2 separate regions of the Homo sapiens genome follow, and region 1 is linked to region 2. Evidence: promoter capture Hi-C in 16 types of primary human blood cells and fetal thymus (Javierre and others, 2016). All regions are on one chromosome and are shown on one strand. The core of a region is centred on a gene start or on the middle of the fragment in contact, and the rest is flanking DNA. Distances in the headings are between cores, read along the strand shown.

The links. The method cuts DNA at HindIII sites, captures the fragments that hold promoters and counts their contacts. A CHiCAGO score of 5 or more calls a contact.
Region 1: a contact is called between a fragment that was not itself captured here and the fragment with the promoter of C8orf88 in region 2, in 4 of 17 cell types (naive CD8 T cells, total CD4 T cells, non-activated CD4 T cells and 1 more). The highest score is 5.4, in naive CD8 T cells.

Annotation. Positions count from the first base shown.
Region 1 is chr8:90,032,948-90,039,598 of GRCh38, reverse strand. DECR1 (2,4-dienoyl-CoA reductase 1) reads right to left here. Exons shown (of 10, transcript NM_001359.2): 6 at 2,659-2,758. Among named protein-coding and RNA genes, the nearest start is that of DECR1, 35 kb to the right of the region's middle. The HindIII fragment of the contact is 2,032 bases long and covers 4,135-6,166 here.
Region 2 is chr8:90,982,328-90,989,178 of GRCh38, reverse strand. It overlaps C8orf88 (chromosome 8 open reading frame 88), which reads left to right and starts at 3,941. Exons shown (of 6, transcript NM_001190972.2): 1 at 3,941-4,065. RefSeq lists a silencer at 3,758-3,917. The HindIII fragment of the contact is 2,363 bases long and covers 2,302-4,664 here.

The sequences.
Region 1 (6,651 bases), core at 3,901-6,400, 950 kb after region 2:
GGTAGGATGGTGACATGGTTTGGCTCTGTGTCCCCACCCAAATCTCACTCTGAATTGTAATAATCCCCACATGTCAAGGGTGGGACCAGGTAGACATAACTGAATCCTGAAGACAGTTTTCCCCATGCTGTTCTCATGATAGTGAGTGAGTTCTCACAAGATCTGATAGTTTTATAAGGGGCTTACCCCTTCACTTGGAACACATTCTCTTTCCTGCTGCCCTGTGAAGAGGTGCCTTCCACCATGATTCTAAGTTTCCTGAGGCCTCCCTAGCCATGTGGAAACTGTGAGTCAATTAAACCTCTTTTCTTTATAAATTACCCAGTCTCAGGTATTTCTTCATAGCAGAGTGAGAACGGACTAATACAGATGGAGAAGGAAGACAGCCAAGGCATATGGGTCAGTATGAGTAAAGGACAAGGGCCCAAACAACATGTAGAATTTGGGAACCTATAATGCCTTATTTAGTAAGACTGTGTACTATAAAGTATGAGAAGAAGGTTGATGGGAACTCAAGCTGTAAAGGAAGGCACATGTTTAATGAGCATCTATTATATGCAGGAACACAATAAAAGCAGCACCAAATCAGTTCTTAAAGGACATGAGATAAAAAGCTCTAACAAGACTGAAGAGTCCTCACAAAACAAATATTGACATTGAACAAATGCTGCCAAAATAGTCAAGTTCTCATCCTTTATTTCCAACACTACCTGACCTTAAAAAATGGTAATTATCTCTTTTCAGACTAAGATTCAGCTTGTGAATAAATATTTCTTTCTATCTCAAACTAATGTGTATTTACTGACTTAAATATTAAAAATGCTCTGGGACTACTAAAAGAAGAGTACCATAATTCAGCTCAACAAGCATGAAGCACCAGCTACGGACCAGACTCTTCTGGTCCAAGTGGGGAAGTCAGATTGTTTAATGTTACGTTAATGGAGGAAATCCCATCTCTACTAAAAGTACAAAATTAGCCAGGTGTGGTGGCATATGCCTGTAATCTCAGCTCCTTGGAAGGCTGAGGCAGGAGAATCGCTTGAACCCAGGAGGCACAGGTTGCGGTGAGCCAAGATGGCACCATTGCACTCCAGCCTGGGCAACAAGAGCAAAACTCCGTCTCAAAAAAAAAAAAAAAAAAAAAGGCCCGCGATGCCCTGCTCTCTCTCTCTGCTACATTGGTATATTACCTTCATTTTAGAATCTATTTATTAGTGTTTGTCCTCTCACTAGATTGGATTAAACAAAGTTTTAAGGCACAGAGAGGAGGAAATGATTACAGAGAAAACATCTCAAAGGAAGTAAGCAAAACATCACAGCAAAATTCCAACAACAATATAACTCAGCCATAGACATATGAAAGCTGTATGGTAAGTTTAGGGAAACATGGAACAGTTCAATGGAAATTAAAGCATGGAAATAATAAATGGAATAGTAAAAAAATTTAAGCTCAGCTAACAACGAGGACTGTTCTATTTCCATCACTATCATATCCCTAGGACGAAGCATATATAAGGTACACAATAAATATTTATTGAATAAATAAATTAATTAACAATGGCCAGAGACAAGTCTGTTTAGAATGCCATAGTGAGTTCTGGCTTTTATTCCAAAGAGTGACAGGAAATGATCTAAGATTTTTAGCTGGGGAGTGTCGTGAGCAGACATATATGTTCTTAGAAAGATAATTCTGGTGAAAATGTGAATACAAAATACAGGGGGAAGAGACTGGTAGTAAAGAAATATACCATGATTATAGCAAGCCAGACAAGCAATGAAATGATGAGAAGCCCCATTATAATAAAGACAATGGAAAAGGCCAGTGGAGGACAAATTCAAAAAGCAATCATGGCTGGGTGTAGTGGCTCATGCCTGTAATCCCAGCACTTTGGGAGGCTGAGGCAGGAGGATTTCTTGAGGTCAGGAGTTCCAGACCAGCCTGGGCAACATAGCAAGACCTCATCTCTACAAAAAAATTTTAAAAATTAGCCAGGCGCTGTGGCACCTGCTTGTAGTCCCAGCTACTTGGGAGGCTAAGGTGGGAGGATCGCTTGAGTCTGGGAGATTAAGGCTGCAATAAGCTGTGATTGCACCACTGCAATCCAGCTTGGGCAACAGACTGAAGTCCTGTCTCAAAAAAAAAAAAAAAAGCAGTTATACTCTGCTGAGAAAAGGCCACTGGACTTGGGAAGTGCTCATAGTCTGTGTTAGTCCCATTAATCTTATACAGTATCTACAATAAAAGAATAAACGTGTGCTTATGAGAGGGGTTAGGGATGGCACTGATAAAGATCTATGGGAGAGCAAAAAAGCTATAGTCCTGTGGTGTCTAATATGTAGCCACTAGCCATATACAGCTACTAATTTTTAAAATTTAGTTTCTCAGTCACAGTGGGATATTCCAAGGGTTCAATATCTACATGTGGATACTGGATAGTGCATATTTACAGAACATTTACATCACTGCAGAAAGTTCCACAGGACAGCGCTGCTATAGACAAATAGGACTTATCTGGGAGATAAAATGTATGTCTCATGGTGAATCCAAGTCTTTGTTTACTTTTCTCTGGATGGACACCAGAAAGCAGGAATACAGTTCCCTGAGCCACCAACTGTATTAGTTATGTTCAGCAACAGGATTGACAAGGAAGTACTTACTTGCTCATGGCTTCCACACCTGCTTTGGCAGAAGCACTTGGTACTACAAAACCTGAACCAGTCTCAGCATAGATAGTAGTAATAGAAAGAAATGCTGCTCCTGAAATTTTAAAAGGATACAGTTGATTAGCAATATAGATGTATCACTACACATAAGGAAAACATTATTTATAAAAATGGGATCTGATTAAAGAGGGTATAAGAAAAACTAAAGTATTTTTTAAAACTTCACTCACTCTAAATTAATGAGAGAGTAACCTAAGAAAATTGATATGTCTTGCTACTAATCTTATGATTTAGGATGGCCCAATCTGCACTTACTTGGAATGTATGCCTGGCGAGTCAATACGAAAGCCCAAATCTCAGAGGCATGCCCCTATTGCACCTTGTATAATCAGCTGGTCAGGATTCCCATTAACTAAGTACTACTTGAATAAGAATAAATCAGAATTAAACTTAAACTAGCAGGGACTTCTGCCTCCAGCCATAATGAACTTACCCTTCTGCTGTAAACATCAAGAAAACTGAGTAAGACATATGCTACAATTATATACAGATACTGCACAGCAGGCAGGGAAGGACTATGACTCTGATAGAAGGAAAATGACTAAGCCCTGAGATACCCTAGCTTTTTGCCTAAAGATACTATATAGATGGAAGGATGAGGAGGAGGAATCTAAGCAGAAAATGGCATTCACACTGAGTTAAGAAGATAGAGATCGGTTTGGGGAGCCTGAGGAAACTAAGGTTTCTAAGAGTTCCTCCAAGGAGGAAAGTAGGCAGAGATATTAATAGAACTCCATAAAGCTGCATGGAGTCTCAAAGAGTCTTTAGACAAATAAGCTGTACATGTTTAGTGTGAGATTCCATTGAGGCCAGGCAAAGAACAACTACTAGGAAGCTGTAAGTGATGCAATTCCCAGAGCTTGCATAGGGCTGGGAGACATGGGAGTTCTAAGCAGCTTCACTGAACATCCAGAGCTTTCAGTAGAGAGCTCAGAAAAAAAAATGCCTTAGTAGGAGGGTTAAATTAGCCCCAAAGTAAGGACTACTATATACTTGCTGAAATAAAGCTTTAAAATGACCCTTAAAAATGATTAGGCTGATGCATAAGTAATTTAGAAGCTTTCCAAAATAAAAAAAACCACACACCTCAAAAGAAAATTAAAATACACACAGACACAAACACAGAACAACAACATAACATTCACAGCATGCAATAAAAAATTACTGCACATAAAAAGACACAGAAACCTAACAAGGAGAAAAATGATTAATAGACAAAGAGTCCCAGAAATGACAGAGAAGACAGATGTAGCAGACAAACAGCCTTTTAAATGCTATTACAAATATTTTAAAAGATTTCACTGAAAATATTTATATGATGAGAAAAATGGAAAATACAAAATAGAAACCAATATGGCTTCTACAGCAGAAAAATACAGCATCTGAAAGGAAAAATTGAACAAATAAGCTTAGCTGTAGAAGAAAAGATCCATGAATCTGAAGACACAGCAATATAAACTATCCAAAATGAAAGACAAATGGGAAAAAAAAAACTGAGGAAAAACCCAGAACCTCACTGACCTATGGAACAGTATCTAGCATTCTAACAAACGTATAGTTAGAGTCACAGAGGAAGAAAAAGCACTTGAATAAGGACTAAAAAAATTCCGAATTTGGTAAAAACTATAACTTACAATGCAGAAAGCTAAATGAATCCCAAGCAGGATAAACAGGGAAAAAAATCAATACATTATCATAATCAATAACTGAAAACCAATGATATATAGAATCCTAATTGCAGCCAAAGGTAAAAATAAGCAATAAAAATACACAAACACAGACAAAAATTTTCATTGTCTTCTCATTTCTAAAAATAATGTAAGCTAGAAGACAATGGAGTTATATTTTTAAGGTGTTGAAAGATAAAACTTAACTCTGAATTCCATATCCATCAAAAATACCCTTCAAAAATCAAGGTGATATGAAAATGATATTATAGAGAAACTGAGATTGTCAAAAGGAAAGAAATAGTAAATATGTAGGTAAATATAAAATATTTTTTCTTGTTTTCTAAATTTCTTTTTAAAATGATTGTATAAAAGCTATATTACAAAGTGATACTGCATATACAGTGGTCAATAGTGTCTAGGACACAGCAGGTTCTCAATAAATTAACTGAATAAGGCCAGGCACAGTGGCTCATGCCTGTAATCCCAGCACTTTGGGAGACCAAGGGGAGCAAATCACCTGAGGTCAGGAGTTCGAGACCAGCCTGGCCAACATAGTGAAATCCTGCCTGTACTAAAAATACAAAAATTAGCCAGGTGTGGTAGGGCATGCCTGTAATTCCAGCTACTCAGGAGGCTGAGGCAGGAGAATCACTTGAACCCAGGAGGCAGAGGATGCAGTGAGCCGAGATGATGCCAGTGCACTCCAGTCTGGGTGACAAGAGTGAGACTCCATCTCAAAAAATAAATAAATAAACAAACAAACAAATAAATAAATAAACAAATAAAGGCTTAAAAGGGTAATCTTTAGGTCCTGAGAAATCAGTGATTTCTCTACTTCTTATTTATTCATAACACGGGATAAGACAATACTTAATATTTGCAAAAGGATCAAAATAAGTTTACATCTTTTACATAACAGCAAATACTTTTAGAAATTTAAATTTGAAGGACTACAAGGAAAGTATTTTGAAGAATATTCAGATAAGTTTTTTCTCTGCTCCATATATTTAGTTTCTCTTTCTCTCAGCATGTTCCAGAGTAGAAAGAAAACTCAGCACATCCTGGGAAACACGGGGGTGGAAGAGGGGGCAGGAGTACCATTTTGAGGATAGGAAAAAATAAGAATGGTTATGTTAATCATTCTGGTAACTCCTTCTATATATCAAACAGCCTTTCAGATTGCTGAAAATTACTTTGCTTCCAAAATCGTACTCCATGAAAGAGGAGGGATGTAGAACATTAGTGGGCTCCATTACAGTACATTGACAACAGATGCTAACTGTATCATTCTTATAGCAAAATTACAAAAGAAAAAAAACTGCTTTAAAAGTGGCAAATACAAAGCAAATGCTCCAATGGAAAGTGCACTATCTTTCAACTAAGACTGAACAAATACATTTCTCCAAGTGTGGGAAAGGAGTTAAGCCATCCTACTACAATTTAGATGCTGAAATGAAAGTTATTTTACTATTCTTTTTATCCCTTTAAGGTTTTATTTTCTCAGCCTAGAAAATTTGGGTAGCCCACCTCTTAGAATAATATACTGCAGCTTTTAATTCTCATGAGTGTAAAAGGGAGATAAAGGTTTGAAACTGCACTGTTCCAATAGCATTAATGCTGCAAGGTGAAACAATTATCGGCTTCAAAAAAATGAACAGTGGTGCTAAAGTGCAAAGTAAAGAATTCCTAGATCCCCAGGGTTAGTCACATATATTTTCCTTCTTGTACAGAGGCCCATTATTTCAGTTAGAATAACTGCTCATGGAAAAGCTTTATAAAAGTCAAGTTTCTAACAGCTCAGAGCAGACAACAGAAATGAATCTATATTATTAATGAGGTTAAGAAAATAGAGAAGGGAAGCAATAAATGAAATAAATATTATGTTAGTCCATCCTTTGTTATTTTGAAATGGAAAAAAATAGTAATAAAAGAACATCAAAAATCATATTATCTATCAAAAAAGCTATGATATGTGCAAGATTATGATCTAATTTCAAAAGAAGATTCAAAAGTTCTAAAATCTGGTTTCAATACAAACTATGAATTGAAAGAATCACTAAACAAATTTAGTTCCAATGACCAACAGAAGGGGAATAGTATAGACACCTGGGCTCAGAAACTGATTCCACTATTTACTAGCTGTGTAGCTATGAGACTGGGGAAGTCGCATCCCTGCTCTGGACCCTAGATTTATCACCTGTAAAACAGGAACATAGGGCGTATCCAGCAAATGTCATTAGATTCTAAGGATTACTTG
Region 2 (6,851 bases), core at 2,692-5,191:
TCAACAGTGTTCACCTGTTTTCAGGTGAACATTCCCCAGAAATGCTATCTCAAAATTTGAAAGTCCTACTGCTTTCCACAGTAGACCCCTTCCACTTATACTGGATAATCTCTACTTCACCTATTCTTGCTTTTGTCCCTTCCCTTCACCTACAATCTAGATCCCATTCTCTTGTGCCTCCTCAGGCAAATCACAGTATCTTTTTATTTTTTTCCTGTATCGCTCTGGGTGCGCAAGTCAATAACTGGCATCACTATTTTCCACTTTCCACTCTCACACTCTACACTGTTAGCAGTTTTCCTTATTCTCTCAGCTATGTGTACTTTTCTTTCCTTATGGTCACTATCTACCTTTACTTATGGCTCTCAATAAACATTGCCTGGATTACTGTAAACCTCTGAACCGATTCCTCTGCCTCTCTTCTTGTCTTGCCTGATGCCTACTCTGCTTCCCAATCCATTTTTCATGTTGTCATTTAAGTAATTTTTTCCCAAATGGTCATAGAATACTATTAAACCCAAACTAAAATCCTTCAGTGTCTCTCCATATCCTTATAAAGGAGATAAAAGACACTTCATCTTTTATTAGCCTAATATCAAGCCACTACCAGGCAGTCTCTTGTATTTTGTGTTTCTGCAGTACTGAATTACTGATGTTTTATTTTATTGGCTGCTGCTCTATTCCTGTATATCTCTGGGCTTGTTCTTTCACCTGCAAGGAATACCCTTTTCTAAGTGGGTAAATGTTTTATCCTTAAAAATCCTGCTCAGGCATTACCTCCCCTGTGAACCCTTTCGTGATGTCTCTTCTCCATCCTCCTACCGTTCAACAGAAGTATGCCTTTCCATGTAGTCCTTCTTTTATTCCACGTAAACATTTCTACTACATATACTATCTTCTATTTCATATATAGGCACTATTATTAAGCTAGCGTTCTCTTCTTGCTAATTTTGCATCAGCCTTTCTCATCATATTTCAGTTTTTCTTTGTAACCTCAGTGTGTATCAGCCTTTCTCGTCGTATTTCAGTTTGTCTTTGTATCCTCAGTTTCTAGCACATAAACATAGGTCTTCAAAACCTTTGCTGAGCTGAACTGAGCTGAATGAAACTAAGTCATTATTATAGCTTTTAACACAGGGGTTTCTAACCACTGCCCTCCCCCAGACCCCAGACTGGTACTGGTCATTGGCCTGTTAGGAAACAAGCCACACAGCAGGAGGTGAGTGGCAGGTGAGTGACTGAAGCTTCATCTGCATTTACAGCCCCTCCCCATTGCTGGCATTACTGCCTGAGCTCTGCTGCCTGTCAGATCAACAGTGGCCCATAGGAGTGTGAACCCTATTGTAAACTGCACATGCGAGGGATCTAGGTCGTGTGCTCCTTATAAGAATCTAATGCCTGATGATCTGAGGTGAAACAGTTTCATCCCAAAACCATACCCCGCCCTTCCAGTCATCCACGAAACCAGCCCCTGGTGCTAACAATGTTGGGGACCACTGTTTTAACACATTCCTATAATAATTATGAGCATCTGTGTTGTGTGTTTGTTAGTGTATCCTTCATAAAATGCTTCGTAAATGTTTGAGGAATAAATGAATAAAAGGCGACTATTGGCAGGAGGTTGGCAAGGAAATCATTTGGTAAACATGAGATAATGCTACCTCTTCAGCTTTCTGAGTTGCCAGGCTTTCAGTGGCACCACCCAGATTTAACAATTAATTTACTGAGTTGAAATTGTCTGTTTGCATATCTGCACCCTCACTAAACAGCACATACCATGAGATCAAGTAACCAGTTTGTATGTGTGTGTGTGTAGTTCTAGGTACTGTGAAAGTGGAGTTAAATAAAATATGAAAATATAAGTTTAAATAAAACCTCTACTTATAAGTAGTAAGACACATTATAAATTATTATCCTTCTAACTGGGATATCTATTTCCACTGTTGCTTTTTCTCAATCCATTCTCCAATTCTTTGAGTGGCCAGAGCAGGGCAGGAAGCAGGGATGGGGGGCGGTGACCAAAGTAAATATTTACTTAGAATAAGAAAATCAGTGACAACAAATTACAGATTTTTAAAAAGATGATAAATACCACAAATATTTTAGAAATTCAGTAAAATGATATTTTAAATTAACTACCTGAACCATTGCTATGTTTTTCCTATATTTTTAGTTTTCATTTTTTTATTGCCTCATCATTTGACAGTAATTTTGTAATGCACTTTCCCTGGTGATAATGAATAATGTGGTAGTCTTTTCAAAGCAAAGTTAGTCAACATGTATTTTTTGTTATTGAAAGCTTAAAAAAGTTATTGCAGTTTCACAATTTGTTATTGGTAATAATGCCAATTTTTAGTATTGCTAAATTTGGGGAAACTCATCTTAAGGTTCTTAGGTGAACTCTGTGATTTCAGGGCACTTCAAGTTTTCTCAGGCAGTGACTAACCTTTAAGTTGCTAAAAGTCATTAACCTGTTTGTTGTCAAGTTCTTGTTGTAAAGGTATGAATTCTAGATTATCCTTGTAGATGCCAAAATTTTATGTCATTATCAATAAGATTTTGAAAAGTTTCGATATGTTTATATGGTTCATTTTTCTTCCTCAATTATCAAAAAATCAAGGAGTCTGTCTAGTCTAATTTCTCTCTTCCTCTCAATAAATTACTAATACTGATCTGAATTGGAATTCTTCCAATTTACATTTTTGTCACAATAGTTTCTACTGACTTCATACAGTGATATGCACAAAATAATTTTATTGTAAGATGTATATAAAATTATACATGCTTCATTGTTAAGTATATTCCTGAAGAAGAAAACTTCTGTTGTGACTAGATGGATGAGAACCACATCCTGCACTTAAGATTTTCTACATCTGGTGGTTGGAATATATTGATTCCACTGTGCAGACTTCTGGTGCCTCACCCCAAGGGATGCCCTTTTATCATGACCCATCTCTGACCCTGGACCCTAGGTCTCTGATGCCAGGCGAGTTGTCTCAGTGGATAGTAGGAGTGTTTCTGGAAGCCATTTCTAAACGGAGACAGCTCCAATAACTTGACTATACATGGAAGTGCTTGTGAAACTTCATACCTTCCAAAATGGTAAATCCTGATAGTGCCCCACTTAAAACCGTTCAGTGTTTGCCAGTGCATTTTCAACTGTCCTTTTGGTGCTTGGGGACGTGAGGGACTGCCACCTCCACGTCCCTCAGTACAAGCAGACAGTCCCCCTCTGGGGACACTCAAAGATAATGAAAAATTAGCAAAAGGATTGAAGGTGAAGATTAAAAAGAAATGATTCGGATGGAGTTGCCTTAATTCATTTTGTTCCTTTCAGGATGGCAGTCTGTGTGAAACGCTGTATCCCTGGTCTGAGGTAAACCAGGTCTCAAACATCTTCCTCCCTGCCAACCCGAATCCCGACACCCACTAAATGCACCAAGGGGAAAGCAGCGCCTGCCAGCAGCTCTGACGGGGGACAGGAGTAGGGTGGACTCAGTCGTCAGCACGACGGCGGCCTCCCTCACAGAGGCGGCCTCCCTCACAGACGCTGCCTGGAACCCGCCGCCAAGCCCCCAGCAGGCGGCCCGCCTGGCGCCTCCCAGTCTTCGCACAAGCAGGGCCACGGTCTGGGGCCCCCAAGGCCGTTCACGCGGGCGCGCCCCGTCGAGGGCTAGCCTGTCAGCGCCTCACTCGCGGCCTCCTACCCTAGACGACCGGCTCTGGGTGGCGCCGCTCCAACCCCACGCGCCCAGCTCGCCCGGGAAAGCGCGCGCCACCCTTTTAACGGTTCTACCCCGGCAGGGGTGCGGCTGCTCTCGAGGCTCAGCGCCCGAGGCCACGCCCCGCGCCCGCCCTGGGCCCGCCTCGTGCCCCTCGGAGCCGCCTCCCGCCCCGCCCCCCGCCCCTCGCCCCCCGCCCCTCGCCCCCCGCCGCCGCCACCGCGGTCAGCCAGCGGACCAGCGGCAGGAGCCGTTCCCCGACGGGCAGCAGGGCGCTCGGCCTCCGCGTGTGGGCTGAGCGCGGCGACGCTGCTGCCCCGAAATCCCCGTGGATTTTGAGTCGGTAAGTGGCTAGGGAGGATGAGCGACACTGGGGGACGGAAGTCGGGCCCCGTGGTGTGGAGGAGGCGGGTGGGCGCCGTCTCCCAGGCCCGACCCCGGGAAAGTTGAGGCGAGGAAGAGAAGCTCTGAGGTGGGTCGGGAAATCTCTCAGGGCCCCTTCAGTACCCTGTGGACCCTGAATGGGAGTGGGATGGGAGCGAGAGCGTCGGATGAGGGGAAAGAAAGTGTAGGGGGCCAGGGGAGCCCGACGGAGGGGCAAGTGGCCGAGACCAAAGCCATCGCCAAAAAAGGAGCTAAGTACACAGCTCCCCTTGGCTCTGCCCCAGCACCTGGTGCCAGGCGGTGGGAGGCTTTCAAGACGATTTGCCCCCTCCACCCGGTGGCACAAGGTTTTCATTGCTGGTGTTTTAGTCAAAGCTACGGAAAGGACAGTTACATGACTAAAGTAATCACAGACACCTATTACCTGGACAGCTTTAGCCCATCCGAATGTTAAATTGTGTTTTGTTTTGAGAAATCCCTCAAATAGACCAAAAAAAAAATTAAATTAGTTATAAAGAGAAGGCATGAAATGGAAGATATGTTGGAACTCTCCAAGCTTCTAGTTTTTTGATATTTTCGTTTTAATTTTTCCTTAATAGTGCAACCAGATATATGGAACGTGAAATGTCTTTCACCACTTGAGTCATAGGTGGTTTATTTCTTACTCCCCGATGTTTCCTGTATGTTTCTCTTCATCTATCATTTTGTCAGTGTGAGCAGTTTACTTACAAGCAGTATTGGGTTTCAAGGAATCCTAACTTTGTAATGTTTTGAAGTTGGAAATTGAGATGAAATTTTATCTGGTTATCATATGGGAATTATACACAAGGTAAATTCAAATATGGTCTTTTCATTTCATTATTTCACTTTATATGATCTTATTTCTCAACGGCAGCGGTAGCATCAGTACTTTCCAAAGAAGACTAGAATTTATATTGGAGTTTAAGTATAGTACTCAGCTTCTAAAAACAGTGCATAGTATATTTCATATGCTGTGATCTATGGTTAGTATGGCAGTATACCATGTCTGTAGCGTGAGGAAAGCACAGTACTCCCTAATTTATTTAGTATTCTAAGAAAAATGGTAAATTGAAGAAATGGATATTATTAGCATATACCAATTTATTCTGCATGGCCTTATAAATAAATGTTACTTTTCACATTAATTTTTAAATCTATACACGCAGTGTCCACATGTAATAAATGGACAGTCAGATATCTTTCTTTTATGTAACAAATAGGCAAGTTTTGATATAAAGGTGTGAACTTTGTAGTCAAATCCTAATATCTAGCACTTAGTAGCTATGTGGACTTGGGCATGTCTCTTATTTTTCTGAGCCTCAGGTTTCTTATCTGTGAAGTGGGACTAATAATAATTTTCTTCCACCGTTCATATATGGCTCAAAATTAAATGAAATTATATTTAGTATGTAGTAGGACCTTAAAAAGGCATCTTAATTAAAAAATAAGATTAATAAGATTTTGGCCAAAGTGGTCAATGTATCTGCTTATTATCCCATTGTATTTTAGACAATTCTAGGTTTACTGGTAATATCAGGACTGATAAGGCCTGAAGATTCATACTTAGGTAAATTTTTTAAAAAGAAAAGGAACCTAAGATATAGTTAGTATTGCCAGGTGTAGAATAGCAACTGTAAATAACTAACTGATTTACCAATATTCTATTCATACAACTTGGTCTTTAAAGATGATTTGTTAAGTGTGTGTGATCTTGAAAAAAACTATTCAGCAACCATTTCTCAGTATGTATTAATAGAAAGTTTTTTTGGAGACATTGGATCAAAATATCCTTTAAAAAACATTTATACCACAAAACTATACATTTACATTTTTAAATTTACATTTTACAACCTTATGATAGGCCCACTACTTGCTACCCAATGTTGTAGGCAGAATTCTGTTTATTTTGTAACTGTGCTTTGAATCGTTGATATGATACATGGCTACTCTAGGTAGCACCAGTAGCTTCAAGGGAAACTTTTTGATCTCTACATTCCATGGATGAAGCAGGCATTAGAGTTTAAGACTGAATTTGTTTTGTATAATGACTTTGTAGTGCAGTTAAGTCTTTATTATTTTTAACTAAACTGAGAATTAGGTTTTGGTTTATGGAGTTCTGCCTTAATTATAATCTCGTGACTCAGTTTTACAATAATAATTACTTTTTATAAATACTTAACCTTTTTCATTAATAACATGATGGTGGAATGTACTATGCATTGTAATCCCAAACTTGTCCCCTATAATGTCAGTGTTTCCCTGCAGGCATCGTTTACTTTAAAAAAAAATATTAAACAGAGTACTGAATGACACCATCTTTTCTAATTTCCTTAACTGATGTGGATTTATATACAGGGAGCCATTGCTGTATCTTTCCTACTGTAAATTGAAGGGTAGGTGGCACCAAAAGAGCTTTGATTTTTTGTTTATTTACTTGTGTTGCAAAGTCATATAATGGAGTTCTGTAATCCCCAACTCTTGAAAATCCCTAGTTTGAATACTGTGGATTTGCCTTGCTCAGCGATTGGAAAAGACTTAACAACCTACAACTAAATTTCAGCTGAGCAATGAAAAACAACGAAGTGTGTGCCAAAGTACTCTATCCTATTGTATTCTGATTCACTAGTTTCATATGGGGAACAGGATGGAAAGTTACTACATACTAGTATTAGGGTCTTAACTAAAATAGCTAGGATAAACATCAAATAAAGCAATGTATATTAG